2 separate regions of the Homo sapiens genome follow, and region 1 is linked to region 2. The links are contacts of gene promoters, found by promoter capture Hi-C in blood cells and fetal thymus (Javierre and others, 2016). All regions are on one chromosome and are shown on one strand. Each heading gives the region's core, a stretch centred on a gene start or on the middle of the fragment in contact. The rest is flanking DNA. Distances are from core to core; before and after follow the strand shown.

Region 1 (4,157 bases), core at 342-2,841, 3.9 Mb before region 2:
CTCAACTAAAACTACAAAAAATTATCTGGCCGTGGTGGCGCGCGCCTGTAGTCCCAGCTACTCCGTAGGCAGAGGCAACAGAATCGCTTGAACTCGGGAGGCGGAGGTTGCAGTGAGCTGAGATCGCGCAACTGCACTCCAGCCTGAGCGACAGGGCGAGACTCTCTCCAAAACAACAACAACAACAACAACAACAACACATGAAAAAGAAATATAAACAGCCTTAAGATGTCCCCACCCAAGTGCTCAGTCGCACATAAACGCAGGCTGCACATGACATGCATTCAAGACACAATGCTGAGTTTGCTTGATACAAAGCTATAGAAGACAGGATCCCAGCTGACACCAGCAAACTTATTCTAGCTTTCAGGGAAACTCAGATGAAATGCGTCTTTGTGAAATCCCTACTCTAAACTCTCGATTAAACCTGAGCACACTTTGAACGCGACAGTCCGCTCCCTCCTAATCCTTAGAAAGCATTTCCTGCCTGCAAAACCTTTCTCCCGCAAGCCTTCTACAAACTTTTTCCGTTCTTTCAACCTACTCCACGAAGCCTTAAGCCCGCCCCTCACCTCCCGCCCCCTACACACACACACACACACACACACACACACACACACAAACACACCCCTCCCCACTAGGGAACCTCAACACTCTGCAGACGCCACTCCACAAGGACACGCAAAACACATGTGCCTGCAAACCCAGCCCCTTTCCACACCCCCCGGAAACGACACCCCCTTTCTCACACTCCGCACGCCACAGCCCATCCCCCTTCCTCCCCGCCCCCCCTTCACATCACCCCAGTCCTCCCACCCACGTTCCCGGGAACCCAACCTCCCCGCGCTCTCCGACTTGCCGAAGGCAGTGGGGAGGGGAAGCAGGAAGAAGGAAGGAGGGCTCAGGCCCGGCCTAGGCCTCTCAGACCGCCTTGGGAGGTGAGGGGGGGAGCCCGCGGGCCGTGCTCAGCTCCCGTCGGCAGCAGGGCCTCATCCGGCCCAGGCCTGCCCTCCGCCGCCGCGGCCCGCCCCGCCCGAAAAACACTCACTTGCCAGCCGCGGTCCATCGAGTCCCCCGCTACTGCCTCCTCCGCCGGCTGCGGCTCCGGTCCCCGGGTCCCCCAGGTCCGGCTTCTTGGGCCCGGGGGGCGGCCCAGCTCCCCCGCCCGCGACGGCTCCCGGCGGAAAGCCGGCCACGGGTGCACCAGCCAGAGCCAGGGGGACGCTGTTGCTATGGAGGCCGAGGCCCGGGGCAGCCCCGGCGGCAGGGTCCTCATGCAGGAACTGACACTCCTCCCCGTAGAAGCAAGTCTTATCCTTAGCGTAGTAGCGGCAGTACTTCAGCTTCACTCCTACCGCCGCCCCGCCGGGGACACCCCCGACCCCCGGCGGGGCCACCACCGCCACCGCCGCCGCCAGCGAGGAGGAGGAAGGGGAGGCGGCGGCCGAGGGGGGCGGGAGGCCGCCGCCACTGTTCATGGCAACGCCGCAGCCTCGTCTTCCGCCGCCGCCCGAGGAGCCGCCGCCGCCACCACCATAGACGGGGGAGGAAAGGAAGACGCTGCCGGTGCCGGATAAAAGCCTGGGCGGGTGGGTCTGTCCCGCTGCGGGAGCCGGAGCCGCCCGGGGAGAAGGGGGAGGGGAGAGGGGAGGGAGGAGGGGGTAGAAGGAGGGAGGGTAGGGGGAGAGTTGGGATTCTCTCACTCACTCTCTCGTTCTCTTTTCTTAAAGGGGCCGCGCGGGACGACGGGGTGAGCGCGCGGGCCCAGACGGGGACTTCGAGGGCGCGGGCAGGGGAAGAGGGAGCGGCAGCGGCAAGCGGGTGGGGAAGGCGGAGGGGCCGGTTTATTTTTAAATTCTGCCTCCACTCGCTCTCTCGCGCTCTGGTTCCTCCGAGTTGTTTATTCCATTTTCCTCTTCCTGAGACGGCCGTCGCCGCTGCGCGTGCGCGCTGAGACGCGAGGGCTTATGGGTAGCGGGAGCGCTAGGGGAAGCCTGGCCGGCGTCGGGCCCCCGGGGGCATCCGCGAGCTATCGGCGGTTGGACCGGCGGCTCTCGGTGGGGTTCCGGACGCGGATCTGGCGCCGAATTCTCACGAGACCTGATACCTTCCTTATTTGTATATTCTCTTACTTAAAAAGCCAGATGTCTTTTTTTTTTTTTTCATTGAAAAGAGAAAATTGACAAGGTAAACGGTCGTTTGGAGGGGCCACCTGGGGACGCGGCCCGAGCCCTGGCTCTACCTGAAGAATATCTTCTATTTGCCACACTTCCTCTCCCCGTTTCCTTTCTTCGCCCCTCTCCTCTTTCCCCTTCCCCTCGAAGGTAATGAGAACTACTGGACCGATTACGCTAACCTCTTGGCCCTTTGTCAAAAAATGGAGCCAAAAAGGTTGATTTAGACAGACCCCCTGCTCAGTGCAGCACCTGTTATTCTCTGTATTTATATTACCAAGGGCCTTCGGTAAATTATGAAAAATAGGATGCCACCTGGGACAACACTGCTTAGACAGCACTGGAAGACCTTTATAAATATACTAGGTTGCTTTTCTCCAATCAGCCTAGCCTTGATTTGAAATTCATTTTTATTTTTTTTGAGACGGTGAAATTCATTTTTAAAAGATAGTTTTAACCTCAGCGATCTCTGATGTTTGCGCTAATACCCTTTTAAAGGCTTTCAGAAATTTTAAAGAATTGCTATGAAAGGAAAAGTAACATTCTAGTTTTTCTCTGTAAAAGAGGTTCACAAACGGCAGATCGCTGTTATGAAAAGGAGGGGTGGAAGTATTTAAGGAATTGTGGCAAACAAAGTCACAGAAGAATGGATATAAGCAAAAGTAGCACACTGAAAAAAATGGGGAAAAGTGGAGTCTAGATCACAAACTGGTAAGCTTGGTGATGTTCTCTAGCCAAATTCGAAGGTAATAACATTGTATTATGGCTTTCTGTTTAAAAGCAGTTTCGCTTATTTGATTATTCAACAAATCTTTATTAACACGCATTACGTGTACCAGAAACTGTGGTACACTTAACTGTGGAGCTGGGGAAGCAAAAGTGAACATGCCGCCTTAAGTGAGTTCAGATGGCTTATCTTCCGGTTGGGGAGGCATCAAGTACACAGGTCCGTTGTAAACCAGTGTCTTAAGTGCTAACCTTATCACATTTGCTATTAGAGGATATTAAACATGTCAGACTTCTTGGAGAAAGTTGATATTTTCATGTTCCAAGTTTGGGAACATCATTGAATTCAGACAGATCTGGATTGAAACAGATTAAAGTGCCTACACTTTAATAGCTGTGTTCCTCTCAGTTAATTGCTTCATTTCTCTGTGCCTTGTCTGTACACCTGGATTAAGAATAGTACCTACTTCATAAAGTATAACTAATAATGTATATAAACTGTCCCATGCCTAATAAGAATTCGGTAGGTTGTAACTATTATTAATAGTATTGGCCAGGCGCAGTGGCTCACGCCTGTAATCCCAGCACTTTGGGAGGCCAAGGCGGGTGGATCACCTGAGATCAGGAGTTCGAGACCAGTCTGGCCAACCTGGTAAAACACCGTCTCTACAAAAATACAAAAAAATTACTGGGCGTGGTGGCGAGCGCCTGTGATCCCAGCTACTGGGGAGGCTGAGACATAAGAATCACTTGAACCTGGGAAGCAGAGGTTGCAGTGAGCCGAGATCTCGTCATTGCACGCCAGCCTGGGCGACAGAGCGAGACTCCATCTCGAAAAAAAAGTAGTATTGCTGCTAGTGGTAGTCAGTGTATAGTCAAAGAGCATTCTAGGCAAACAGCTTTTATTGTTAGAATACAGTGATAGTGGAAAATGGAGCAGAGTCCACAAAAGTCCTTGTAGGGCCATGTTAAAGAATTGAACTTTTGGCCAGGCGCAGTGGCTCACGCCTGTAATCCCAGCACTTTGGGAGGCTGAGGCGAGCAGATCACGAGGTCAGGAGTTCAAGACCAGCCTGGCCAACATGGTGAAACCCCCGTCTCTGCTAAAAATACAAAAATTAGCTGGGTGTGGTAGCAGGCACCTGTAATCTCACCTACTCGGGAGGCTGAGACAGAAGAATTGCTTGAACCCGGGAGGCAGAGGTTGCAGTGAGATCGCACCACTGCACTCTAGCCTGGGCGACAGAGCAAGGCTCC
Region 2 (4,666 bases), core at 1,009-3,508:
GGTGCTACAAACAGGGCCAGAGAAAAGTGGTGAGAGAAAGGAAGAGCACAGCACGGCGCTGCCAAGTTCTCGGAAGGGAGGGCTCCATTCACCTAGAAAGACTCTGCCTTCATTTCTTTAAAAAAAAAAAAATTAAATGCAATGTTCAATTTTCTATATTTTGAGAAAAATTTAGTTGTGGATACTACTTAATTTGGAGAGTTTTTTATATTATTATTTTAAACTCACATAATAATTGTACAATATTTATGGGGTACAGTGTGATATTTCAATATATGTATACAATGTGGAATGAGCAAATCAGGGTAATTAGCATATCATCACCCCAAGCACTTATCATTTATTTGTATTAAGAACATTTGAATCCTCTCTTCTAGCTATTTTGAACTATACAATACATTGTCATTAACTGTGGCACAGTAGGACTTATTCTTCCTGTCTAGCTCTATTTTTATATCCATTTACCAACCTTTGGTTATCAAGATTTTGAGAATACTTGACCAGGGAGGAGAAATATACTTTCATTATTATTTAAAAGTTGATACTACAGAAAATTTCAAATACACACAAAAGCAGATAATACCATGAACCCACGATTATCAGTCTTTTGCCAATATTGTTTCAACTATTTCCCACCAACTTTTTTGGAGTATTTTAAAACAAATCTCACATATCATATTTTATGCAGAAAGTATTTCACTATCTGTGTATAACAAACAAGGACTTAAAAATAACTGCACTATCTTATCCCAACTAACAAAATTAAAAATAATTCCTTCATGTTGCCAAATATTCAGTTCATCTGAAAATCTCCCCAACGTGTCTCAAAATGATGCTTTTACAGCTGGTTTGCTGAGCTCAATTTGTGGGCTTACTGAGCTGGATGCCATTCTAGCACTTCGTTGGTATATAAACCTAAAACCCTCAGTGCATAGAAAGGAAGGAGTTCCAGGACTGGGATGGAAATGCTAGAGATGGTCTATCATGTGAGTCTCACCACCCCTTGGGCTGCATCTCCCATGTGACAGCAGCTTTTATAATTAATGTACTGCTAATCTCTCTAGGCCAGAGATGCTGCTGAGAGATGGTTCCACTGCAATGCAAACCTGGTCCTCCATGGGGGTGGGACATCTGTCATGGGAAAAAGGTGGGCATAGTTACTATACCACACAGCAGGGCCAGCTTGGTCATCTGAATGGTTTGACCTGTGAAATCTCTGGTTGTGCTGTTAACTGATCTCGGGGTCCCCAGGAACAAAACAGATGAGTGATTCCACAAAGGTACCACAACATTGTGTAGGAGGAACTCTCCAGGGCTGGCAAGCAGAGCCCGACCTGAGCCACCATGACAGAGAAGACAAGGGAGGGCCCTCACTCAACTCCCAGACTCAGGCCTCTTGATGGAGCAGAGCCAGGGAGCCTCAGGGTAGGCATCCTACTACAAGTCTTCTTCCTAGCTTCTCAAAGAGAACTCCTACCATCAGCCTGGTGACTGTGTCCTCAGGACAGGGAAACTCCCGGCGGCAAATGTAAGCAATACTCTTCCCAAGCCTTTCTGAGTAGGAGAGATGGCTTTGGCAAGGCAAGGATTTAGCTCGTGCGCACTCCTGGTTAGGAGCTAATGGCCTGGCTGAATGGCCTGGAGGAATGTGGAAAGAACAAGATGGGCTGAGGATGGGTTTGGGGAAGGAGTATAACTGGCTACCTCAGAATACCCGCAGAGCATGAGATGATGTCCATCCTACATGAATCCTTATTGCAAGAGAGGCTAATCAATCATCATGTGGACATGCTGTCCCAATGTGCAGCTAGATGCCAGTCTTCCTTCCTAGTCATCTTGATACTTGCTCAGTGGGTTCATAAAAAGGAAAAAAAAAAAGAAGCAAGCAAGAAAAAGGCCATGGTGGCAAAAATGGATGCCAAGCCTGGGCTAAACCACAGGAAGTCTGGGCCTTCCCCTCAACAAAGCTGATGATACGGTTCCCCGCAGGAACCAGACAGCCCCTTGCGGAAAGCTGATTGCAGTGGGGCCTTTTCATAATAGAGGGGGTGGTGATTTGTCCCTACTGGAAGGGCCACTTATGCTGGGCTTGGATTTGTTTTCCTGCACTCTGTGGATCCTCTAGAAGGCCCCTATCCTGTCGCAGCATCTCACACGCCATCCAGGCCCAGAACGTCACAGAGAAGGAAGCACATGACCCCATCACACCCAATAACAACCAAATAAAAATGAAGTTACAGAGGCAGCTGGGAGACACACCCAGAAGTTGCCATACTGCCCTGGATGGGACGCAAGCTCTGAAGCAGTGACTAATTTGGAGAGGCTGGCCCACAGCAGAAGATGCAGGGCCGGAAACCAAGGGTAAACATAGAAGCGGCTTCTTAGGATTACTTAATAATATACTTGCAAAATGTTTTCTTCCCACCTAGGAACTCTGCTCTGTTGAAACTGAATTTAGTGCCCAAGGGAGAAGTACTTCCTCCAGAGTTCACAGTCCTGGCCACAGTGAATCAGAACCAAGGCTGGCCATTTTTGCCTCTTCGTACCACTGGGAAAATGAGCACCCACGGAAAATGGGGATGGCTTTTGTGGTCACTGCTACCATATTTCTCAAATGGACTAATGCAATCGCCTTCAAATCAATCTCCATTCCTCTTCCTTTCCCCCCACAAACTGCCCTCCCTCTCTAAGCATAAACCGGAACATAATATGCTCCTGCTGCCAATGGCTTCACACCACACTTAGAACAAGCTCAGCCTCCTCATGACCTGCAGAGCCCTTTCCAGCCTCAGCCCACCTCCCAGCCTGCAACATCCTCGTCTGCCTCTTGCTCCCTGAGCTCCTGTCACTGTGGCCTCCTTGCTGAACCTCAGACACATCATGTTTCCTGCCTGTCTTTGGGCTTCTGGTGCTCCTTCGGCTAGGACTTCTCCTCCCTCGGATCTCTGCCTCACTGCCTCCTACTCACCTGTCCCCAGCGTCACCTCCTTGGAGAGGAGGCTATCTCCCCCACCTGCTCCTACTCCTCACATTACCCAAAGTCATCTTCTGCAGGGCCGTCACTGGTGCCTTGGTGCATCCTACATATTGACTTATGGAATCTGTTCAAATGCTGAAATGTAAACTTTGCATGACGTTTTATTCTCCACAGCATCCCAAATTCTCTATTTCCTTCCTTTCCCTGCCTTGCCATTCTGGTAGGGATGTGTTGCTTAAATCTGCCTCTAGTTAATCAACGCTGAAGAGGCACTGCATGGAACTGGAGGACTAGTTATCCTAAGAGGTCCTAGACTTGGAGGTGTCTGCTGCCACTGATGAGGATCTGGGTGTCTCCTTCTAGGGAAGAGAGAGAGGGTTCATGGAACAGGTGCATCCTGTTCATTAGAGTGTCATTAGAATAACACTCTTTGGAAATGAATGCTCTCTATCCTGTTTTATTTTTCTTTATAGTACTGTCTGCTCTGTTAAATACTTACTTGGCCTGTCTTCACATATAGAAGGCAAGGGTCCCTGGAGACAGACACCCCACCCTTCTTCCTGTTCCAGTACCACCAGGTGGTGGACATATCACCTAAGCTCGGACAGCTGAATCTTCCATCCTGGGACCTGAACCCCTGGGTGAGTGACAGAAAGACAGTCACTAACTCCTAATAAGTTAACTCCTTATTATAACTCCTCCCCAAATAAGTATACACTTCTTCAAGATAGGGTCTTTAATTAAATGTTTTGTATTTTCAAAGCGCTCACTGGATACCCAGATAAAGTGCTCACTGGATACCTCACTAGCTCCTGGGACAGTGCCATGGCCAGTCTCCCATCACACACCTTCCGGTGGCTCCTCCACTCCCAGGAGTGAGCCTGGATGCCATCCCTTCCCTAGCCTGGTTCCCCAGCCATCCCATCAATTCTGGGCACACCTGGCCCCCTTCCAATAAATTCCCTTTTTGCTTAAGACAGCCAGAGTTAGGTTTTGTTGCTTTTCGACAAAAGAACGCTAAAATTAAAACATTTTTAACATAACAACAAAAACCAGTGTTACAGAAAGCAGGGAAAGGCTGTGTGTACACAGGTACGGGGTGGGAGGAGAAGTGCTCTACATTCCTACCACCCTAACAATGCTACTGTTATTTCTGCCTGTTCTTTCAAAATCTTCTGCCATATGGGTACACGTTGCATATTGTTACAAACATGGTATACGTTTTTGATTGAATTGTGTCCCCCCAAAAGATGGTGAAGTCCTAACCCCCAGTACCCATGAGTGTGACCTTATTTGGAAATAGTCTTAGGTAGATAATCACATTAAGATGAGGTCACTAAGTTGGGCCCACATGCAGTAAGCCTGGTGTCTTTATAAAAAGGGGAAATCTGAACACAGACAGACACAGGGGAGAATGCCATGTGAACATGAAGGCAGAGATGAGGCAATGCTCCTACAGGCCAAGGAACACTGAGGGCACCAGACGCAAGGAAAGCAGCCTGGAGCAGACCCTCCCTCACAGCCCTCAGAAGAAACTGACCCTGCTGACGTGTTGATCTCGGATTTCTAGCCTGGGTCTCGGTTCTTTAGGGATCTCCACATGCAGGAATGTATGTACACGGACACCACAGGAGGGGCAAACTTCTCAAACTTAGAGCCACCAGCCTGGCACACAGAGCATCTACCCCA

What was found. The method cuts DNA at HindIII sites, captures the fragments that hold promoters and counts their contacts. A CHiCAGO score of 5 or more calls a contact.
Region 1: a contact is called between the fragment with the promoter of PAN3 here and the fragment with the promoter of SPATA13-AS1 in region 2, in 1 of 17 cell types (non-activated CD4 T cells). The highest score is 6.4, in non-activated CD4 T cells.

Annotation. Positions count from the first base shown.
Region 1 is chr13:28,135,979-28,140,135 of GRCh38, reverse strand. It overlaps PAN3 (poly(A) specific ribonuclease subunit PAN3), which reads right to left and starts at 1,591. Exons shown (of 19, transcript NM_175854.8): 1 at 1,049-1,591. The coding sequence starts at 1,478. PAN3-AS1 (PAN3 antisense RNA 1) reads left to right here and starts at 962. Exons shown (of 2, transcript NR_029383.1): 1 at 962-1,589; 2 at 1,731-3,293. RefSeq lists an enhancer at 550-844 and silencers at 927-1,326, 1,367-1,446, 1,637-1,746. The HindIII fragment of the contact is 2,991 bases long and covers 1-2,892 here.
Region 2 is chr13:24,252,031-24,256,696 of GRCh38, reverse strand. SPATA13-AS1 (SPATA13 antisense RNA 1) reads left to right here and starts at 2,258. Exons shown (of 3, transcript NR_046531.1): 1 at 2,258-2,361; 2 at 3,498-3,618; 3 at 3,741-3,948. The region is part of intron 4 of SPATA13 (spermatogenesis associated 13); the gene reads right to left. The HindIII fragment of the contact is 5,552 bases long and covers 1-4,666 here.